Regions from separate parts of the Homo sapiens genome. Here region 2 is linked to region 1. The links are contacts of gene promoters, found by promoter capture Hi-C in human tissues and cell types (Jung and others, 2019). All regions are on one chromosome and are shown on one strand. Each heading gives the region's core, a stretch centred on a gene start or on the middle of the fragment in contact. The rest is flanking DNA. Distances are from core to core; before and after follow the strand shown. Region 1 holds the start of KCNIP4 (potassium voltage-gated channel interacting protein 4). Region 2 overlaps KCNIP4 (potassium voltage-gated channel interacting protein 4).

Evidence for each region. The method cuts DNA at HindIII sites, captures the fragments that hold promoters and counts their contacts. A contact is called where the count stands out against the background at its distance.
Region 2: a fragment that was not itself captured here is called in contact with the fragment with the promoter of KCNIP4 in region 1 in 1 of the 25 tissues and cell types used here (H1 embryonic stem cells).

The regions. Positions count from the first base shown.
Region 1 is chr4:21,946,046-21,952,709 of GRCh38, forward strand. KCNIP4 (potassium voltage-gated channel interacting protein 4) reads right to left here and starts at 2,727. Exons shown (of 9, transcript NM_025221.6): 1 at 2,526-2,727. The coding sequence starts at 2,586. RefSeq lists enhancers at 2,674-3,174, 3,175-3,675. The HindIII fragment of the contact is 8,414 bases long and covers 943-6,664 here.
Region 2 is chr4:21,800,741-21,807,404 of GRCh38, forward strand. All of the region lies in intron 1 of KCNIP4 (potassium voltage-gated channel interacting protein 4), which reads right to left. Among named protein-coding and RNA genes, the nearest start is that of KCNIP4-IT1, 49 kb to the right of the region's middle. The HindIII fragment of the contact is 3,771 bases long and covers 969-4,739 here.

The DNA.
Region 1 (6,664 bases), core at 1,477-3,976:
GGAACGAACTTTTTAAACTAAATTATTATAAAGTTTCAGAATTGCAACTCGACTCTGTTCTGTCATTTCCAACATTTCCTCTCTACTTTCCATTCATGTAGTTTCATCCTTTGCCTTTCAGCAAACCATTTTTCACAGTGTTCTATCTCTAAGTCAGGTCATAAAATACATACACGTACGCACACAGACTCACACTTCTCTAATTCTTGATTTCTCTATCATCCACCTACATTTCTCTCAGTTAGATCTTCCAGTTAAATTTTGCTTAGATTCCAGCTAAATCATCTTATAAACCTCCATTCCAGAGATATATATTCAAGGAAAAACTGTATCATAGTACAAGATAGTTTGGGAGTTATATAAATAGCCTACTTATTGGAAAGAGAACAAGAGATCGGGACTATTATTTTAAAACAAAAATGGAAGACAGAGTTTAAGCCTTTAAAAATCATCCCTTCTCATCCCAGGATTAGTAAAGACCATCCTATATCTGATCACAAGTAAGCAAAGTACTTATGCATATGTTTGGTGAAAATAGTATTACATATTTGGGGATCATTCTCTAATATTAGCTTTGAAGCAATATCAACAAGAATAAAAAAGATAATCCAAACTATTTTTTTCTTTATTCTTCTCATCATATGACAACTAACTAAAAATTTGTGAATACAATTCAAGAAACAGGTGTCAAATCAATTCTCAGCCAGAAAACTCATCACTTTGGTCTCACCTTAGCCAAGGTATAAAACAACATATTTCTGTTCTCTAAATAAACAGTGAACACATGCTGATTCTGGAGATAGCAGTAAAAGGTTTGCTTTTTTAAATGTATAGTACTCCCCAGGTGTGACTTCATCTTCATTTCCCATTTATAGTGATTATGGCCACCCATGACCCTGTGCATAGTCTAGACATGCTGATTCAATCCCCATCCGGTTGATGGAAGAACAGGTACAGTCAAAGAGCTGTGGTCACTGAGGAGCCAAGCAATGCAAGCCATCCAGATCCTGAGACGACATTCCTGCCATCTGCTCCAGCCTTGAGTTCCCTGGGCTGCCGTGTGTGAATGTGTCTCTAATAGGACAGCGCTAGCCCTCTACCCTGTTTATTCTAAAGAACTGCAAAGACAGAGACCCTACGAACTCAACTCAACACCCCAAAACTACTCAGCCCTCTACATTAAACACGCCACTCAGGAAACATTTGATCTCTTAAAGATTGTAAGCATTTCTCACAAGAGATAATCTACTTATGCTTGGCTCGTAATGAGTGGGCATCTCCAGGCATAAGTGAAAACAGAACTAAACACAGTTACAAGTCAAATGTGGGGCTTTACAGGTGATGTTCATATTATTTTTTCCAGTCCAAAAGGATTAAGACTGTTCTCTTTAAAATTTCATATTCAAGTGAGACTAGTGTCCTCCCGGTTACGATGACCTTAACTATTGGAGTGAGGAAAAGAAAGGGAGGGTGTCCATTTCCATTTCTCATGGCCATAAATTCGAATGATTGACTCAAGTTGTTGAGGTGACTCCATTTCCCTGAGTACTAAAGAAGGCAGCAAGTGGAAACACCTCTTTGCTTGCAAGTTTACAGCCCTCGAGTCCAAGTTTTTCACCCTCTAAACCCAAACTATGCTATAGCCATATGTGACCCCTTAGCTTATGTAATCAGGGAGAGGTCCAGCCCTTTATCACTCTCATGTGCCCCAAAATCACTTCCATTCTCTTTCCGGCTCCTGTAAAATACTCTGTACACATCAAAACCACCTAATAACAAATCGATGCAACCCAAGACGCTTTGTGGAAGGGCATCGTCTCCTATTTCTCTATGGATCCCACCAAACAGCAAAACATTTCTCCCTGCTTTCGCAGAACGCACGTTTCTCTGAAAGCCAAGCTCCTAACACAGTGCCCGATACCTTAACAAGGCTGTACTGTATATAAATTATTTGCAAGTGTCACTGAGGACCATTTTCTCTGAACACACTAAACTGAAGCTAGCCATAAAACAAGCCATACGCTCCTGCTTTAGAATCTGACATGGGCAAGATGCCGCCAGTATATTACCAGGGGACAAAAATACAGTTGTAATGAAGAAACGTGTGGGGGCATGAAGGAAAAGTGGAAGGCGAGGATCAATACTATTTCAGCTCATTAATCCCCAGGTGTTAGGGGAAGGAAGCGTGCGGTCTGGAGTCATCTGGCAGATGCATAAACAACCTCGGAAATTTTCAGAGAAGGCAAAAGTACGCACAGGATCGCAGGGGACCCTGCCACCGGCGAGTTTCAAACACACTTCAAACATCTTTTCTTCCCCGACCTGGATCTTGCATGCACCCCCCTCTCCTTTGCACCCCATTCCTGCCGCTCCCACCTCCCCTTCCCAGTCCCGCCAGGTGACTGTGTCTCATGCAGCGAAGGCAACAAGCGTCCCCAGCCGAGGAAGGGAAGGGGCAGCCGTCTTGGCTCGCGAGGGAAGGAGGGCGGAAGCGGGCGCCCGCTCGCAAGCTTATTGCATCCTACCGCCTGTAGAGCTGGCCTCCTCCAGCTGAGCCGAAATGCTTTCCACCCTCCTCACATTCATGTCTAGGGACGCAGGGTGCAGAAGCGAGACTCGAGAGTCCACCGGCCAGGGGCGTCTGTCCACGGGTCTGCACGGGAGCGCACCGCCGCTCGGCCCGGGGGCGTCCGTGGCGCTGGGAGCGAGAGCTTCGGCGGCGGCTGCGGGCAGGGCGCGCGGAGCGGGCTGCAGGTGCGGGCGGAGGCCGGCGGGGGGCGCCGGGGGCGCTGCGCGGCCCTTGGCGGCGGGGGCGCGCGGGGTGGCGGGGGAGGCCGAGGCGCCGGCAGCTTCGCGCCGGCGGCTGGAAGCGGGCGGGCTGCACGGGCGGCTCGAGTGCGGGGACCCCAGCCCCTCGCCCTCGTGAGCGCCGCCCCTGCCACCTGCTGCCAAGTCACCGGACTGGGGATGCGGGGGGCGGGGTGCGGGGAGAGGAAAGCGCCGCGGGTGGCACGGTGCCTCTGGCGACAGAGTAGATGGACCCGAAAGAGACCCGAGGTGACTTCGGGCTGGGCAGGACACCCCCGGGAGTTGCCAGCGGCTCTCAGCGGGCGCCTCTAGGACCCCTTGTCACTGCGAGCAGCGCCTGCTCTGGGGAGGGGCTCGAAGGCGCCGCGCCTTCTCAACGCGCCGCTGCGTCCCCCAGGGGCTCCAACTTGGACAGCTAGACTGGAAATACTGCTGCACAAAGTTAGGCTGAGTTCGAAGGACACCAGAGAGGAAGCGCAAGGAGATGCCCTTCTCCGGAGCCGGGCAGAGCGCCAGAACTCCTAGACGGGAAACTTTCCCCCATTGAAGCTAGAACCGGTCATGCGACTCGGCTAAGTGTGGGGAAACACTGGCTCTAGACTCCAGGTGAACATCGCAGGGCCGAGGTGCAGAATACCACCTTGGAGAGAGGGGGTGGCATAGACTGGTGGCATTTTGGAGAAGCATCCATGTGGGGGGTTTCATTTGAGATCTCCCAGGCAGGTCAACCAGGAGGTATCGCTCACCACCCGCAAGGTCATTTGCCCTTCTAAAGCACAGTAAGGCCGGGAATAGTTGGGAAGGTAAAGAGAAACCAATAGACCACTTGTGGCCATGGTTACTGTTTGAGAAGTCAAAATTAAAATGCAGATTTCTGTGTCCCCAAGAGTCAAGTGCATGAAGCCTCTCTTTTCAGAAGAAAGGTCAAGTTGACCCGTTCTCCAGGCAAACTGAATTAAAATTCCCTCTCACTCTCAGCTGCAAGGTCAGTTGGCCATGACTTGGGTGGAAGCCATTTCTAAGTGTTTGTGAAACTATTTGCCTTCCCTATGGCTGCTGGATTATTTATACACACTGTCACCAAGTGAAATCTTCCCCCTTTCTCCAAGTAGGTCTCAATTGACACCTTATTGCCCTTCTCCCCACCCCCAAACGCACGAGCGATTTACTTAGTCCTTTGAGCCCTTGTAGCATGTATTTGTATATTTCTTGAGAGCCTTTTACTCTTTTAGTTCATTGTTAAGGAGACAGATGCTGACACCCCATTGTCTGGGTTCAAATCCTAGTTCCACTACTTCATAATCCTGTGGCCTGGTACAAATATCAGCTATAACTGGTACCTACATTATTGTTTTGTTGTGAGGATTTAAGAAAATCAATAGATGCAAAGGGCTTAGAGCCGTGACTGGCATGTAGCAATCACTGTATAAAGACAGGCAACCCTGATTCTTGAAGTTGAGAACAATGTTATATTGACAAAGCAATTAGAAAAGTTCCTTGCACATAGTTGGTCTTCACTAAACATTTGTTTTTTCATTATTCAGCAAACATCTAGTAACTACTGTGTACAAGACACAATTATAGGCACTGGGATACCACAGTGAATACAACAAAGACCCTCAGTTATTGGCTGACTATCTAGAAGGCAGAGAGACTGACAATAAATCAAGGAATCAGAAGTGATCTGCTAGGGAGATCACTTTTATATAGGGGGTCCATAAGGGCTTTATGAAAGAGGCAACATTTAATTGGAATCCTGATGAAAGCGAGGAGCTAGCCATGGGCATCTCAAGGGAAAAAGAACTTCCAAGCAGAGAGAAGAGCAAGAGCTAACATAAGAATAGCATGTTTGCAGGGCAGCCAGGAGGTTGACAGGGCTGAAGTACATTGAGAGAAGGAAAGGGTAACAGGAGAGAGAGTCAGAGAGGATGGGATCATGTGCAGTGTAAATGTTTATTGAATTTTGTCTGCATACTTTTACAGCCAATGCATTCTTCCCACTTGCCAGCTTCCTCATAACAAGTCTTCTCGCTGCCCATTCTATCAGATTCAATCATTCGATTCTGTCGCGTGCCACCTTCTCCCTCTTCTGCAGACTTCTCCTAGCAAACTTCCAACTTACTGACCAACTACTTCTTTCTCTTTTTCTGTAGCTAACACTCTTTCCAGAAACCACCCACAACTTTGAATCACTAATACTTGTCCAACTCCAAATTTTGTCTTCTATATGATGACTTCTAAAGCTACCTGAGCATGCTGGTTTGGATTCTGCAGCCTGGGTTGGAATTCCAGTTCCAACTGTGAACAAGCTGTATGTTTGAGGACTAATAACCTCCCTCAGTTTTCTCACTCTAAAATGAAGAAAATAATAGTGTCAGCCGGGCAAGGTGGCTCATGCCTGTAATCCCAGCACTTTGGGAGGCCGAGGTGAGCGGATCACCTGAGGTCAGGAGTTCGAGACCAGCCTGGCCAACATGGTGAAACCCCAACTCTACTAATAATACAAAAATTAGCCAGGTGTGGTGATGCATGCCTGTAATCCCAGCTACTCAAGAGGCTGAGGCAGGAGAATCACTTGAACCTGGGAGGCGGAGGTTGCAGTAAGCCGAGATCATGCCATTGCACTCCAGCCTGGGTAACAGAGCAAGACTCTGTCTCAAAAAAAAAAAGTAAAGAAAAGAATAGTGTCTACTTAACTATTGGGAAAGATTATATGAGGCAGCATATGTAAAGTGTTTAGGATGGCCCCTGGCACATAGAGTCAGTAAGAGCTGCCATCGTAATAGTTATCACCATTATCATCATCATATTTTGTCATGGTGAACTCAAAGAAGAAATGGCACCACTATATTCTACAACAGGTCTAAGCAACCTTCCCTCACAGTGTGGGAAGTAATACACAACCCCTTTCTCATCTCCAAAATATGCAGAACATTTTGTTGGACCAAACTATCTTTCAAATCTTATCCAAAGAATATCTGCCCATGGTGGCCCTACTAAACGTTTACCCCTTAACTAATTATAAAGAAGGCAACAAAATCGTGTAAAGTAGACACTGTGCTGAAGAAGTTTGTAATATATTAACATATAAATATTGTATTATATAATATAATCAATATATAATATTAATATATTAATATATTTCCAAAATATTTGTATGGGAGTTTAGCTACTACAAATCCCAAGTCCAGACCTTTTTACTCGGATTCTTAGTCATTGCCAAACATCACAGAATAATTATCTTTTTACTGCCACATTTACCGCCATTTTTGATATTTGGGACCGAAAGTCCAGGATTTCTCTGTCTTGCTTGTACCATCTCCTTATTGGCTCTTTAAGTACTTCAACTAGTTAAAGAGAAGAGCTTCATAGGCCACAGCATGCTGTGCCAGCTTCTTATTACTCCTCCGAGGCTGTAGCAACCCTAGCCCGTCTTCCCAACCTCAAGACACATGCACAAAGATTGCCACCTTCTCTGACTAACCCTAGATTACTTTCTGTATAGCACGGATGTGTATTTTTCCCTCAAGGAACCATATTCAAAATTGAGTGCAGAAATAGGAAACTCACCATGTGCCAGCCATGAATCTCAGACTTTATGAACATTATTTCATTTAATCTTTACAAAGCACTGGGAGATAAGCACTGTTATTATCTCTACTTAACTAGTGAAGAAATTAAGCCTCAGAGAAGGGAACTGGTTTGCCAGTTTTATAATAGTAATCAGTATATCTGGGCTTTGAACCCAACCGTCTGACTCAAGAGCCCCCATATTTAATTACTACAGTGTACTGTCACCCTGCACTAGAATTTCGATGCTCTAGACTCTGACATTTCCTAGTTCTGTGTCCTCCGG
Region 2 (6,664 bases), core at 1,604-4,103, 150 kb before region 1:
TTAATATAGAATTCCGCATACAAACTCCTTCCCCAAATAAATTGCAGGTATAGCAGAATATAATATACTGCCAAACATAGCATGTAATATTATGATGACAAACATAAACTCTCCCGATGGCCTCAGGTAATCAAGCACACTATAGCTTCGAAAAAAGATTATGGTCATAACATTTGCCAACGTTTCTCATGAGAAGTCTCTCCTGCCTTCTTTAGTCAAACTGGGGCCAACACTTTCATTACATTCATTCTCCGAGTCAGAAACTTTGCAAGGCACTGTGCAAGATTTTTTGAGGACATCTTCTCAGAAAAATCAGGGAGGTTTTATGTCCATTTTACAGGAAACTAAGGTTCAGAGACTTTTAAATGTGTTCCCTCGGATGATTTAACTAGTGTGTGAGAGAGAACATATTCTAACACCAGTTTTCATAGCTTCATGTCCAAAGCACTTTTATCATTACATAAGCAATAGAAGGTATTTGACACGTAATCTTTTTAAATTTATGTTAAAATCGTCAAGGAATAAAAATAAAGCTCTAAAATAGATTGATAAATGTGCTGCAGTAGACAAGACCCCGTTGAATTTAAAAATCACTGGTCATGTAAAACCAGTGACCAACCTCTAGTTGCCAAAAGAGTGGCTTTGTTCCTGGCAAGAGAAAGAAGGGAAAGGGAGTTAGATTGGTGATTATAGAAATTGTGCCATGGATTTGGTATTAAAACAATACCAATTTGGGACACACAAGTCATGACATACATCACCAAGTTGTGGAGGCAGGCGGAGGCATTATTCCTCATATCTGCCCAGAACACTGCTTGGAAAATGGTGGTAAATGACACATGAAGAATTTTACTTATTTATTTTATTATTATTATTATTATTTTTTGAGATGGAGTCTCGCTCTGTCACCCCGGCTGGAGTGCAGTGGCACAATCTCAGCTCACTGCAACCTCCACCTCCCGGGTTCAAGCAATTCTCCTTTCTCAGCCTCCCAAGTAGCTGGGACTACCAGCGCGTGCCACCATGCCTGGCTAACTGAAGGATTTTTATTTTTTTATAGCTGCACAGCACCAGGATGTAGATACCAGGCTGAGAAGCAGTGGCCTCTTAGACAGTGCCATAATAAAACACCCTTCTTAAGAGCTATACAGAGAGAAGTCATCAAGAAAAAAAAATAGTAGGAAAGGGATAGAGAACACAAACAGAATTCAGGGAATTTTTTTTTTAAAAAAGAATAATTTTAGGTGGGGTGCATAGGGTAGGGCACAGAAGGGGCTAAGGTCCTGAAGTTCTTCATGGGAGAAAGAATGTTTAATGAGAATGGGAATTAATATTAATATTATTCTAATTTTTCTTAACCCCAGGCTACTGAGACTGAAGTGCAGACTGTTGCCTGTCTTACAAATCAAAACCACAGTATTTGACCACTATGCCAGGAATGTTAAAATCTGACTTTCTCCAACAACAAGTGAACATTTCAGTTTTTAGTGTTTTAATATTTAGTATGAATAGAGTTTTTCACTAGGATATTTAGTATTTGATAGACCTTACATGTCTTATCTCATTTACTAATCCTGAAAACCTTAGGCCTGTAGTAATATTATCCTCGCTTTACAAGGAACCAAAACTCATCGTCTCTCTGCCTCCCTTATGTTGCTTTGCAGTTTGGGGAGCATAGTTTTTGTTTTTGTTTTCCTAAATAAAGGTTTGTGCCTCTAAGGTAATCAGGATATGTATTTTTTATTTCCATATTGCAGATAAGAAAACAAAGGCCAAAAAATAATAAATTATTTAAAGAAATGTACATCATAATAGAAACAGATCTGGGGCTAACATCAGGTTTCCTGACTCCTGGACTGGCATTCTCTACATTGTACAACAATTACTCATTGTTGTTTATCTTCAGCTTCTAGCAACAGACATGGGAATTAATCACTCTCTGAACATGCTTTTGAAGGAAAATAATGGTTGAGTGGATGAATGGAAGGCTGACCTATTAATAAAAAAGCACAAAAATAAAGACACGGTTCCAATAACATCTAAAAAAGATATCATACATATCATCACATTTCCTAAACCACATTCTCTCTCAAAAATTGCACCCCAACTTTCATTCCCAGAAAACAGCCTTCCTATTCAACTGATAGAGTCAGCTTTAAAATTACTGATCCTGGAATTTTTTTAAAGGGGCTTTAAAATGGCCAATTATCACAACAGGATGGTATATTTCAAAATTTCCTTATATCAATTCCTGAACCAACCTTCCTGAAATTCTCCCAGTTCCATGTCTTCCCTAGTACTTCATTTTTGACACAAAGGTTAAAAGTAAAGGGATGAAGGCCTGCTCCAGAAGACAGACAAAGTGAATTTTAGTTCCAGTATATAGCAGGTTTTTGACGTTAGTAAAGGTAGTAAACGTGCCATGCATCAAGCCGGTAAATGTCACGACATCTCTTGAGTTGCCCAAGCCAGAACACCTCCCTCTATCTCCCACTTCCTTGATCCTAATCCATTATACAGTCTTATTTATTTTAGCTATAAAATATATCCAAGAAGAGTCTACAACTCTCCATTCTTACTTCCTCTGTTGTCACCCAAGCTTTTATCACTTCTCATCTAAACAACCCTCTGGGCCAGTCTTCCCACATCCAACGTGGATCCTCCCCAATATGTTCTTCACACAACATCCAAAAATCTTTGTACAATGCACTGTGATGTGATAACACCATTACCTTCCCTAAATGTTTCAATGGCTTTCTTTCAGCTCTTTGAAAAAAAGATCACAATTTTCAACATTCAGCCTCTAACACTGGACCTCACCTGCCCAACCCCCACCATTACCCTGCCCTCTATTGCTACTGGTCTTCTCTCAATGTCTCCAAAATGCTACCCTATCTGCTGTCTCAGGTCCTTTCCCTTTGCCCTTCCCACCTTTCCCCTTGTCTGTCCTTCTTACCTCTCAGTTCAATAGACACTTCCCCAGTGAAGCTTCCAGACCCCTGTTATACAAACAGGCAATTCCTGTCTCCAGAGCACTGATTTCATTGGCAATTTTCTACTAATTAGCAAATTATCTTACTTATGTCTGTCTCTCTGAACAGAATAAAAGCTCCATGAGAACTGAGACAAAGTCTCTTTATATCCATTTTACCTCCAAACATAAAGTACTTGATCTCCAGGCAAAGATCACGGGGAATAGATCAGCAGTCAAACAAAGCCAGGCTCATTGCAACAAGGGAGAAAGCAACCACGTGGAACCATGAAGGAAAGGTCTCAGTAGAGGTTATTAAGAGGGGCTTGGTACAAGATTTGGCTTTGTGTTAGAAGATTTTGTGGAAGATTCAGACAAATCTAATTTTCCTCTCAACTGGGGACTGTGAATTGGATTTTTCTGTTGAATGCTGAAAAGCAAGGCCAATTCTATGACTGGGTATCTTAGTAGTTTTCATTTAGAAGGCAAGAAGGACAATGCAAGGCTAAAATGATGGTAAAGAAACAGCAGTCATGTTAGCTGAGCACACATGGTCATTTTCATGGCTTGGGTTGTGTTCTTGTTTTGTTTGTGATCAGACATGATTATAGAGTGGTCTTGTTTTTGTCTCACTCCATCATGATCATACAGTGACCTTGTGTGATGTAGATATTCTGTGAAATTATATATTTGATGAACAAACACTGAATTAGCAGTTACAACCAAGCCAGCTCAGTTGACCACAGAAATTTCACTTTTTCTTTTTCCTCACTAATAAATAATCCTGTGACTTGGTTGTAGAAGTCATTCATCAAATAATTGATGAAAACCTGAATGAATAAATTTAGCCACTCTTAGCATCAGCTGCTTCATGTTTGGGGGATAACATTTCACCTGCTCAAATTAGACCAGAAAATGACTTTAAACCACTGCCACTTTAAAAACCTATAATTCTAAGATATTCAAAATTTACTTGAATATTCATATAACAGCCTATAGATATGTTATCATAAATATAAAAGGAAAACTAAGTTATAGAATTTTGTGACTTAATGAAAACTTTATTATCTCCCTCCACACAGGCACTTACATTCCTAAACATACAATTTCATTCTGTCACATTCCACTGCCATTCCACTCACTAACAAACAATATATTGAAACCTGAAATGTTAGAACGCTAAGAACAAATTTATACAAAGCTAAGAACAAATTTATAATGTTTACCTGACAACAGAGAAATGACTACAATTCAATGGAGAAGAAAAAGACCACAAATTAAAAATATTCCTTCACTGGTTTAAGAGGTAGAGATTAGGATCTCACTGTGAGAGTTCACTCTCATTGCAGAACAGAGGGCTGAGAAGGCAGAAGGACATACAGCCTTTTGAACATCCACATGTGGTAATGGTTGCACTACTCTAGAAATCTATACAGAATCACTGGATATTACATTTGCAATGGGTGGACTTCATGGTATGTAAATTATACCTCAATAAAGCTATTACCAAACAAAAGTTGGTGGAACTCCATCTAGATGTATTGATATGGTTGGGCTCTGTGTCTCCACCCAAATCTCATCTTGACTTGTACTCTCCATAATTCCCATGTGTTGAGGGAGGGACCTGGTGAGAGATAGTTGAATCATGGGGGCTGTTTCCCCCAGACTGCTCTGGTGCACTACCAGAGCACCACGAGATCTGATGGTTTTATAAGGGGTTTCTGCTTTCATTCTCTCTTGCCACCACCATGTAAGAAGTGCCTTTCATCCTCTGCCATGATTGTGAGGCCTCCCCAGCCGTGTGGAACTGTGAGTCCATTAAACATTTTTCTTCCCAGTCTCGGGTATATCTTTATCAGCAGCATGAAAATGGACTAATACCTGTATGTCCACCTAACAGGAACCCGAGGCTGTTTACCAAATATCCTGCAGTCTCACTCTTTAAAACACCTTCATCTGTAATATCTCTATACTCTCTGCCTCCATGAATTTTCCCCTCTATGGAAGATTTATCAAGCAAAATGGGAGTGGAAAATCTCACCCTTCCAGCTACACCCTTCCTGAGCCCTGGCCAGTAAGCAAGTTCATCTCACTTGAACACTTGAACCATCCAGACTGTGGACTTCATATCCAAAGGCCCTGTGCTTGGCAGGGCATGATACAGGTGTGGCACATATTAAGCAACTCAGTAACTCATAGTAGTGGTGTTAAGAATTAGGCATGATGAAATGAATGTGTCAAGAATGTAGGTTACAAATGGAGCTGCTTTTCCTTTAGGAATTTTCTGTTTAGATGGACACATCAATTGTATCCTGGTTTTCTTCTGACATATAAAATAGGAGACAAGTGACACTAATAAAACAGCATGGTAGTTAAGGGTTTTTTCTGCCTTTCATATGCTTAAATGTTACCAAAACATTATATACTCTGGACCTCTTCCAAACGAAGCTGCATTAGAGGCTTCAGGTCAATGTTTTTTAAGGTACAGTCCCACAAAAGTTAAGGTGGGACAATAAAATACATACATTGTGTCATGTAGCATCACAGGGTGTTATTCAGTACAATATAGCACCCCATATAGTATTTAGTTACTACTTGCCTGAAAAGAAGATCTATGTCTTTCCATCTTGCCGTTTACAATTCTGTATTTATTTGAATTATTTCAACAGTGACCTGTAGTTATTACATTAATGTTACTTGTGTACTCAGAAGTAAAAAAGTGTGAGAAAATTGTACTAAAAATTTGTCACCAAGGCCAGCAAAAATTACTTTTATATAGAAGAATCTTGTTACAACCTATGCAAAAGAGGGAGATGACTGATTAATATTTTAGTTATACTCTTTCAATAAATATGTAGACTACCTGTCACATTTCAGGCACTGTATTCAGCACTGAAATACAACTGTGCATAAATGCACACTATTAACTTCTCAAAGTTCATGACCTGTTGGGTTAGACATTAAACAAGTAATTATTTTTTTAAAAAAACAAATCAGAAGTTGAAAGGGAAAACATATGAGAAGTATCAAATATGCATGGCTAAAGTATTTTTCCATGAAGATGAATAGGAATCTATAGACATTAAAAGAGCAGTTCCCAACCTTTTCAGCACCAGGGATCGGTTTAGTGGAATACAGTTTTTCTACAGACAAGGAGGGTTGGATGGGATAGTTGTGGGATGATTCAAGCACATTATATTTATTGCACTTTATTTCTATTATTATTACATTATACTATACGATGAAACAATCATACCACTCACCATAATGTAGAATCAGTGGGAGCCCTGAGCTTGTTTTCCTGCAACTAGATGGTCCCACCTTGAGGTGATGAGAGACAGTGACAGATCATCAGGCATTAGATTCTCATAAGGAGCATGCAACCTAGAGCCCTTCACATGCACAGTTCACACTAGGGTTCATGTGTCTATGAGAATTTAATGCTGCCACTAATCTGACAGAAGGTGGTGCTCAGGAGGTAATGCAAGCAATGAGGAGCAGCTGTAAATACAGACAAAGCTTCGCTTGCTCACTGACACTCATCTCCTGCTGTGCTGCCTGATTCCTAACAGACCACAGACTGCGACTCGTCCATGGCCTGAGGGTTGGGGACCCCTGCATTAAAAGTCCAATTCTGTCCTGCATCTGGTAATTTACACATCTCCATGAAGGCCAGCTACCTGATGGCATGCG